Regions from separate parts of the Homo sapiens genome. Here region 1 is linked to region 2. Evidence: promoter capture Hi-C in 16 types of primary human blood cells and fetal thymus (Javierre and others, 2016). All regions are on one chromosome and are shown on one strand. Each heading gives the region's core, a stretch centred on a gene start or on the middle of the fragment in contact. The rest is flanking DNA. Distances are from core to core; before and after follow the strand shown.

The links. Contacts are between HindIII fragments. The CHiCAGO score rates a contact against its expected background, and 5 or more counts as called.
Region 1: a fragment that was not itself captured here is called in contact with the fragment with the promoter of EPHX4 in region 2 in 5 of 17 cell types (total CD4 T cells, naive CD8 T cells, activated CD4 T cells and 2 more); the score reaches 7.5 in total CD4 T cells.

The regions. Positions count from the first base shown.
Region 1 is chr1:92,637,230-92,641,526 of GRCh38, forward strand. All of the region lies in intron 13 of EVI5 (ecotropic viral integration site 5), which reads right to left. Among named protein-coding and RNA genes, the nearest start is that of EVI5, 150 kb to the right of the region's middle. The HindIII fragment of the contact is 2,003 bases long and covers 332-2,334 here.
Region 2 is chr1:92,027,389-92,031,756 of GRCh38, forward strand. It overlaps EPHX4 (epoxide hydrolase 4), which reads left to right and starts at 2,597. Exons shown (of 7, transcript NM_173567.5): 1 at 2,597-2,922. The coding sequence starts at 2,692. It overlaps LOC124904218 (a long non-coding RNA gene), which reads right to left and starts at 2,999. Exons shown (of 2, transcript XR_007066222.1): 1 at 1,977-2,999. RefSeq lists an enhancer at 2,296-2,797. The HindIII fragment of the contact is 12,008 bases long and covers 1-3,563 here.

The sequences.
Region 1 (4,297 bases), core at 83-2,582, 610 kb after region 2:
TAGCTGGGCATGGTGGCACACGCCTGTAATCCCCGCTACTAGGGAGTGTGAGGCAGGAGAATGGCTTGAGCCCGGGAGGTGGAGGTTGCAGTAAGCCAAGATCATGCCACTGTACTCCAGCCCAGGTGACAGAGCAAGACTCTTGTCTCAAGAAAAAAAAAAAAAAAAGATATACATAGAAATAATTGCTGGAAGTAGAGAAGACGCAGATGCTGCACAAAGAAATTAACCACGGAAGCACGCAACTTTCCCATTTGCTTTCCTACTCTATAAAACATGAATATTGATGCAAACACTTAAGTCGTCATTTTTAAGCCAGTGCCCATAGAAAAGCTTCTGTACAAAAGCAATATGTAATTCATCATTATAAAATACTTTCTAAAATAAATTGTCTATCACTTCACATTTAATTTATGTAGTAAAGAAAATGTGGCAACTCAAAATTTCAAAATAAAGTCATAAAAAACAATCTTCTACTGAACTAGCATGAATAAAGCACAGTTATTTTTACTCTTTAATATGTTAGGAACAAAACAGATGTCAAATCAAAACTATTAAAAATAACCAGATGCTTAATACATGGTACTCTCCTGCCCCAGTTACCAAAAAAAGATGTGCAAATGAGGACTTTAATTCAATGCATTATACATTATTTCTTCTAGTAATTTTGATACTATTGAAACAATATTTCAATACGAGAAGTGCATCTGCAACAGACACATCATCTTAGCAAATACTTACCTTTTATCAATTAGGAAAAAGGCATTCTTTTGGAATGACCACATCCAAACTAGATGTGCCATAATTTATTTAATTAGATCACAGTTATTTCGTGGGTACTGGAAGAATTTTTTTGCCCTCAACTTAAAGCCCTGGCAACTGTAGCACAGGTTTGTTTGCAAAGACTTTATATTAGAAGATCCCCAAGAAAACATCAAACTCAAAGGCCCATATGAGAATGGAATTCTTGATTGGCATAAACCAACTAATCCAATCAAGTACAAAAAGCTATAGTAATGTTGGGCACAAATCTTTATTAATAAAATTTACAGAGAGCTGAAATGCTCTGATAACAAGTCATTCTGGATAATATATATCTTATGCTTTTTATACTCTAAAACATATTATTTTAGTCTTCTGGATTAAAATAACTCTAAACGTATTATGTAAATTTTTTTGCCACTGACAGAGTTTACAGAATATAATTCCCAGGTCATCATGATGGTGGCCAATTAACATACTGCAAATTACACAGTGTCTAAGGAAAAGATGCTGCTGTGAACTATAAATTACCTGAAGCTAACCACTGTAGTTTCAATTTATTCTATTTTCCACAGGGGGAAAACAGTTTTATAAACATGTTTTAATGTTTGACAGAAATGACAATTATGACAGCAGCTAACATCTACTCACCACTTACTATGTGCCAGACACATGTTAAGCACTTTATATTCTCCTTTAACCTTCACCACAATTACTGTCTTACTAATAAGGAAACTAATAGGGTACACCAAGGTCAAACAGCAGTTGATAGTGCTATTAATTGACAGTTTGTATTACAGAGCCCATGTTCCTCACCTTTAAGCCATATAGGTGTTGAAGAGTTTAATATATTGTTTTAATATATACTGTTCTAAAAATTAATTATATAATATTAAAAAAATCCAAACCTCTAAAAAAAATCTAAGCATATAGATCTCACATAATGTTCTTGTATTAAGAAATTCCTAGAAGAGTGCATTTCATATTCAAGTGAGTAACTTGGACAGACACACAATTTGTTTTACCAAATGACAACTGCCACAATTATGATGGCTGGCAGTCTCAGCAAGGGGAGCCGTTTATTTAAAAGCATAGAAATGACAGATGACTTCTCTATACTTACATCAAGTTAATTTATGTAAATGAATCTCATAATGTTTCTGTGATACCAGCAATCCCATTCCAATGAAACTGACAGAAATTCTTTTTAGTAAGCAGAGTCTGCTTTTCAATCCTATGTGCTTTTCTGGTGTTGCAAAAATTACAAAGGTAAAGGTAAGTTAGAAAGTCCTCAGTAATCCTTTTTGCTTGTGTCTTGAGCTTAAAAAAAAATCTTCAATATTTGAAGGAAATAGGAGTAATACAGTAAAAAGTAAATATTTGTATTGGGGGAAGTTTCTCATATTATTAAAAAAAATTTCAATATTTGAAGGAAATAGGAGTAATACAGTAAAAAGTAAATATTTGTATTGGGGGAAGTTTCTCATATTATTAAGTGAAAAAAAATTGAAATTAGAAAAAGGGTTGTCCATGCAAATGTATCCAATATTGCTTGAATTTAAGTATACATTAAGCTTTTAACTAAGTTCAAGATATGACATTTATATGCTCTTTTCAGGAACCCAAACATTTCATGGAACCCTGTTCTCATCTCTTTTGTAACACTTATCACAACTCTAAATAAAAAATTGTGCATGCTGCCCAAAGTAATTATAGATTCAATGCTATTCCCATCAAACTACCATTGACATTCTTCACAGAATTAGAAAAAAACTACTTTAAATTTCATATGGAACCAAAGAAGAGCCTGTATAGCCAAGACAATCCTAAGCAAAAAGAACAAAGCTGGAGGCATCACGCTACCTGACTTCAAACTATACTACAAGGCTACAGTAACCCAACAGCATGGTACTGGTACCAAAAAGACATATAAACCAATGGAACAAAACAGAGACCTGAGAAATAACACCGTACTTCTACAACCATCTGATCTTCAACAAACCCGACAAAAGCAATGGGGAAAGGATCTCCTATTCAATAAATGGTGCTTGGAAAACTGGCTAGCCATATGCAGCAAACTGAAACCGGATCCCTTCCTCACATGTTATACAAAAATTTACTCAAGATGGATTGAAGACTTAAATGTAAAACCCCAAACCATAAAAACCCTAGAAGAAAACCTAGGCAATACCATTCAGGACATAGGCATGGGCAAAGACTTCATGTCTAAAACACCAAAAGCAATTGTAACAAAAGCCAAAACTGACAAATGGGATCTAATTAAAGAGCTTCTGCACAGCAAAAGAAACTATCATCAGAGTGAACAGTCAACCTACAGAACAGGAGAAAATTTTTGCAATCTACCCATCTGACAAAGGTCTAAAATTCAGAATCTATGGGGAACCTAAACAAATTTACAAGAGAAAAACAACCCCATCAAAAAGTGGGCAAAGGATATGAATAGACACTTCTCAAAAGATGACATTTACACGGCCAAAAAACATCAAAAAAAAGCTCAACATCACTGATCATTAGAGAAATGCAAATCAAACCCACAATGAGATACCATCTCATGCCAATCAGAATGGCAATTATTAAAAAGCCAAGAAACAACAGATGCTGGTGAGGCTGCGGACAGATAGGAATGCTTTTATAGTGTTCATGGTAATGTAAATTAGTTCAACCAACACGGTTCTAGAACCAGAAATACCATTTGACCCAGCAATACCATTACCAGGCATATACCCAAAAGAATACAAATCATTCTACTATAAAGACACATACATACATATGTTTACCGCAGCACTGTTTACAATAGCGAAGAGTTGGAACCAACCCAAATGCCCATCAATGATAGACTAGATTAAGAAAATGTGGTACATAAACACCATGGAATACTATGCAGCCATAAAAAGGAATGAGATCATGTCTTTTGCAGGGACATAGAAGCCATCATCCTCAGCAAACTGACACAGGAACAGAATACCAAACACCGTATGTTCTCACTCTTAAGTGGGAGCTGAGCAATGAGAACACATGGACACAGGGGAGAGAACAACACACACCAGGGCCTGTTGGGGGTTGAGGGAGAAGAGGGAACTTAGAGGATGAGTCAATATGTGCAGCAAGCCACCATGGCACACATATACCTATGTAACAAACCTGCACATTCTGCACATGTATCCCAGAACTTAAAAGTAAAATTGAAAAAAAAAATTGTGTGATTAATTTTTAAAATGTTTATCTCTATATATACTATACAAGCAAATGCTGGAGACAGTTTGACTGACTTACCATTATAAATCAATAACTGCCTGGTTAACAGAACCAAACAGTGCTTTTCATAGGTAGGTTAGCAAAATATTAACTGCTGAATCAATCAGTTAACTCCTGGTTTAACAACAAAATCCCTGTATTATATAATTTACATTAAACATAGGAAGTGGAAGTTGAATGCTGCAAAAAAAAATCTATAAAACTGATGGTTAATCTATTTTTAATTGAAATGCCTATGTAGCAATCTTGAACCACTTTC
Region 2 (4,368 bases), core at 1,347-3,846:
TGGGCCATAATAGAATCAGATACAAGTCAATAATGGACTGCCAAGCACAGTACCTCATGCTTGTAGTCTCAGCACTTTGGGAGGCTAAAGTGAGAGGATTGCTTGAGGCCAGGAGTTCAAGACCAGCCTGATCAACATAGCAAGATCTCTATCTCTTAAAAATTTAATGTGTTATGAGTTAAGAGTTTGGAGGACTGAAAGTAATAATAGAAAAATTGCTAAACACATTAAAAACACAATGGGGCAAGGAGGAAGACAGGAATCTTTGTTTTTTTTTATTTATTTATTTTTTGAGACGGAGTCTCCCTTTGTCACCCAGGCTGAAGTGCAGTGGTGCAATCTCAGCTCCCTGCAATCTCTGCCTCCCGGGTTCAAGCAATTCTCATGCCTCAGCTTCCCAAGTAGTTTGGACTACAGGCGTGCACTACTATGCCTGGCTAATTTTTTTGTATTTTTAGTAGAGATGGGGTTTCAACATGTTGGCCAGGCTGGTCCAAAACTCCTGACCTCAGGTGATCTGACCAGCTCAGCCTCCCAAAGTGCTGGGATTACAGATGTGAGCCACCACCCCCGGCCCTGTTTTTTGTTTTGTTTTGTTTTGTTTTTCATTTTTTGAAACATAATCTCACTCTTTAACCCAGGCTAGAGTGCAGTGGCATGATTTTGGCTCACTGCAGCCTCAACCTTCCAGGGCTAAGGCGATCCTGCCACTTCAGCCTCCCAAGTAGCTGGGACTACAGGCGTGCACCACCACACCTGGCTAATTTCTCTATTTTTTGTAGAGACAGGGTTTTGCCATGTTGCCCACGCTGGTCTTGAATTGCTGAGCTCAAGCGATCCTCCTGCCTCAGCCTCCCAAAGTGCTGGGATTATAGGCGTAAGCCACAGCACCCAACCTAAAACAGGACATTTTAAAAAATACATAACAAATGGCAAAATACAACATATCAACACATATGTAATACGATTAAAGAGTACTGAGAGATGCCAGGCGCGGTGGCTCACACTTGTAATCCCAGCACTTAGGGAGGCTGAGGCGGGCGGTTCACGAGCTAACCTGGCTAACACGGTGAAACCCCGTCTCTACCAAAAATACAAAAAACTTAGCCGGGCATGGTGGCGGGCGCCTGTAGTCCCAGCTACTCAGGAGGCTGAGGCAGGAAAATGGCGTGAACCCGGGAGGCGGAGCTTGCAGTGAGCTGAGATGGAGATCGCGCCATTGCACTCCAGTCTAGGCGACAGAGTGAGACTCCGTCTCAAAAAATAAAATAAAAAGAGTACTGAGAGAAATGTATAGGTGCTAAATGATTGCATTAGAAATTGCAAAGGTCTCAATAAGTTCCTAACTCAAGACCCTAGAAAAAAAGAGCAAAATACAGTTAACCCTCAAACAACATGTGTTTGAACTGTGTAGGTCCACTTACACATGGATTTTCTTCCACCTCTTCCCTCCCCCTCACCCCAAGACAGGAAGATCAACCTCCCTTCTTCTTTCTCCTCCTCAGCTTACCTAACCTGATGATGACAAGGATGAACACTCTTAAGATAATCCACTTCCACTTAATGAATAGTAAATGTATTTTCTCTTCCTTATGATTTTAACATTTTTCTTAATTATAAAGATACAGTATGTAATACATAAACATATGTTAATTGTTTTGGTCAGTAGTAGGCTATTAGTACTTAAGTTTGGGGGAACTCAAAAGTTATACATGGATTTTCAGATGTGAAAGGGTTCAGCAACCCTAACCCCCCGCATTGTTCAAAGGTCAATTGTATAACTCACACATGCTGAAGTAAATTCAAAATTGTACAGCCACTTTGGAAACCAGTTTGACAGTTTCTCATAAAAAATGAACACTTAATACCTGACCCGGTGATTGGGAAAAGGCTTAATGAAATTCTAACAGTGAACTGGACGATAGAAGAGGTCAGGACAAGAGTGGCCATGTCGGTGCTGAGGCTGAGATACCTACCGAGGACTGTCACTCTCACGGCTTCCAGCCCTTCGACGAACTCTCAGGTGTGTGGCCTTCTGGCCAGGCTTCTGCCGCGTCACGTTGTTGAAGCATTCGTTGTATCCCTGGGGTTGCAGCTCTCTGTAAGTTTGCTGTGGCTGAACCAGGCAAGGCATAGGCGGATTTCTACAGAAATTATGATTCCACGAAAGATTTTGAGAAGAGGAAGGCTGGTATCTTTCAGAGTGCAGAGTGATTTTGCACTCTAAAGAATCTCTTTGGGTGTAATAGCATGGAAGTTTGTCGCTGACCTGTGTCCCTGAACTATGACACACGAATATGTGGGCTTAGAAATAGTTTTGCTTGATACATTGAGAACAACAAAGAAGACTGAGTGGCGCTACCTTCTTTGGTGCCCAGGATGGTTTGGGAAAGTCTCGCCTTCATCCTCCCCCACAGTTTTGCGATTTTGAAACGGGATCTCGCTCTCCGCGGAAGACAGCCAAGCTCTGCACCCCGGCCTGGCCCGCCGCACCCCGCAGGCCCGGCTCTCCCCTGCGCGCTCCGGGCTGGGCGCGGCGCGTGTGCGGAGCCGCCGCGGTGACACGGAACGCCGGCCGCCCCGGGCCGGGGGAGGCGCGCGTCGAGAGGCGACGGCGGGCTGGCCTGGCGCGCTGCGGCGCTCGCTCACCCGCTCCCGAGGAAGGGCAGTGGGCCCCGCCGCCGCCTCCCAATGGCGAGGCTGCGGGATTGCCTGCCCCGCCTGATGCTCACGCTCCGGTCCCTGCTCTTCTGGTCCCTGGTCTACTGCTACTGCGGGCTCTGCGCCTCCATCCACCTGCTCAAACTTTTGTGGAGCCTCGGCAAGGGGCCGGCGCAGACCTTCCGGCGGCCCGCCCGGGAGCACCCTCCCGCGTGCCTGAGCGACCCCTCCTTGGGCACCCACTGCTACGTGCGGATCAAGGTGAAGGGCCGCGCGGGCCTGGCGGGAGCGGGAGGGAGCGTGACCGCCGCGAGGGTGGGGGGCTCCGGGCTTCTCCTTCCGAGACGCTGGCTCAGCGTCCCCTAGTGTCCTGGCAGGAGGGGAGGAGGGGTTGGGTCCCTGTGTGTCGTGTGTGTGTGTGTGTGTGTGTGTGTGTGAGAGAGAGAGAGAGAGAGAGAGATACAGATAAACAGCACTCGGTCTTTGCAGGCACCTTGATTGGTTTCTGAATGTGGAACTTCTCTAATCAGGGGCCTCTTATATTACTGCCCCCCGGCGCCACAACAACCCAGAATAAACCTGCTCTTTTTCCTACTGCAAGGGGAAGCTGTCTCCTGTCACCCTTTTGCCCTTTAGAGCTCAGATCAGCTGTAGAGAATTGTTCCTCGTGGCATCCTAATGTCTCAGGAGGCTGTTCTTGCCCAATTTTAGAGATAATAAGAGTAAACAGTCAGTCTTTGGGAGTCATGAGTTTATTATGATCACAGACGACTTAGGTTGCATGAAACAATAAGTAAATTGTGTGTGTTGTGGGGAGGAATGCATACTTATGAAGTCAGGGACCAAAGAAAGGAATGGAATAAAAGGTAAATCCAGCCATGCCTGCAGACGCTAATTGTTCAAGCTTCCTCACAGCCCACAAATATTCTGTTTCCTGAGGCTCCAGGTGGTGAAGGGAAATAGTTCCCGTGATACACCCTGCAGTCTGACTCACAGGCCTTTCAAACCCAGCCTCATAAGAGGGGATGTTTATGTCACCAAGTCCTTATTTCCTGTTAGGAGCTAAATTGCCCCGCAGCTGAAGTTCAGAAGGGCAAGAGAACTTCTTTCTTGCCTGGGGTCGACATGAGAATTAAATAGGTTAATATTTATAAAAACAAACACGAAAAACTTAGAACAATGCCTGATGCATAGTCAGTGCAATAAAGTATCTGTTAATTAAATCCATTGCAGTGCCCATAACATTTAATCCTCCAAGACTCACCACCAATAAAAAAAGTTATTGAACCTCTAGGAAGCCATCGTGCAGCTGAGGGTAAAGTCAGATTTGTTATCTCTGTTCAACCTGAGGGGTAAAAGTAGTATAAGAACCATCTGGAATTCCATAAAACACTTTTCCCCTCGCTCTGGCCGCCTAAAGAGCTTCCCCAGAGACAGAGAACCGAGTGGAAAGAGCATTGTCCTGGGAGTTAGGACAAGATGGAGATTCTGGTCACAGCCCTGCTCTCAACCATTTTATGACTCATGTTACCATCTTTGGGCCTCATCTTCTGAATCTGCAAAATGATTCTTTCACATCTGAAAACTCAGTTGCTTGAGTTGCCTGCTATAAAAACCCAATGTCTGTGTTTAGCTTTTGGTTCTTTTTGTTTCCTAGCTTGCTTGCTTTCAGAGATTTTTATTCCTGCTGTTCCCTCTACTTTCCTC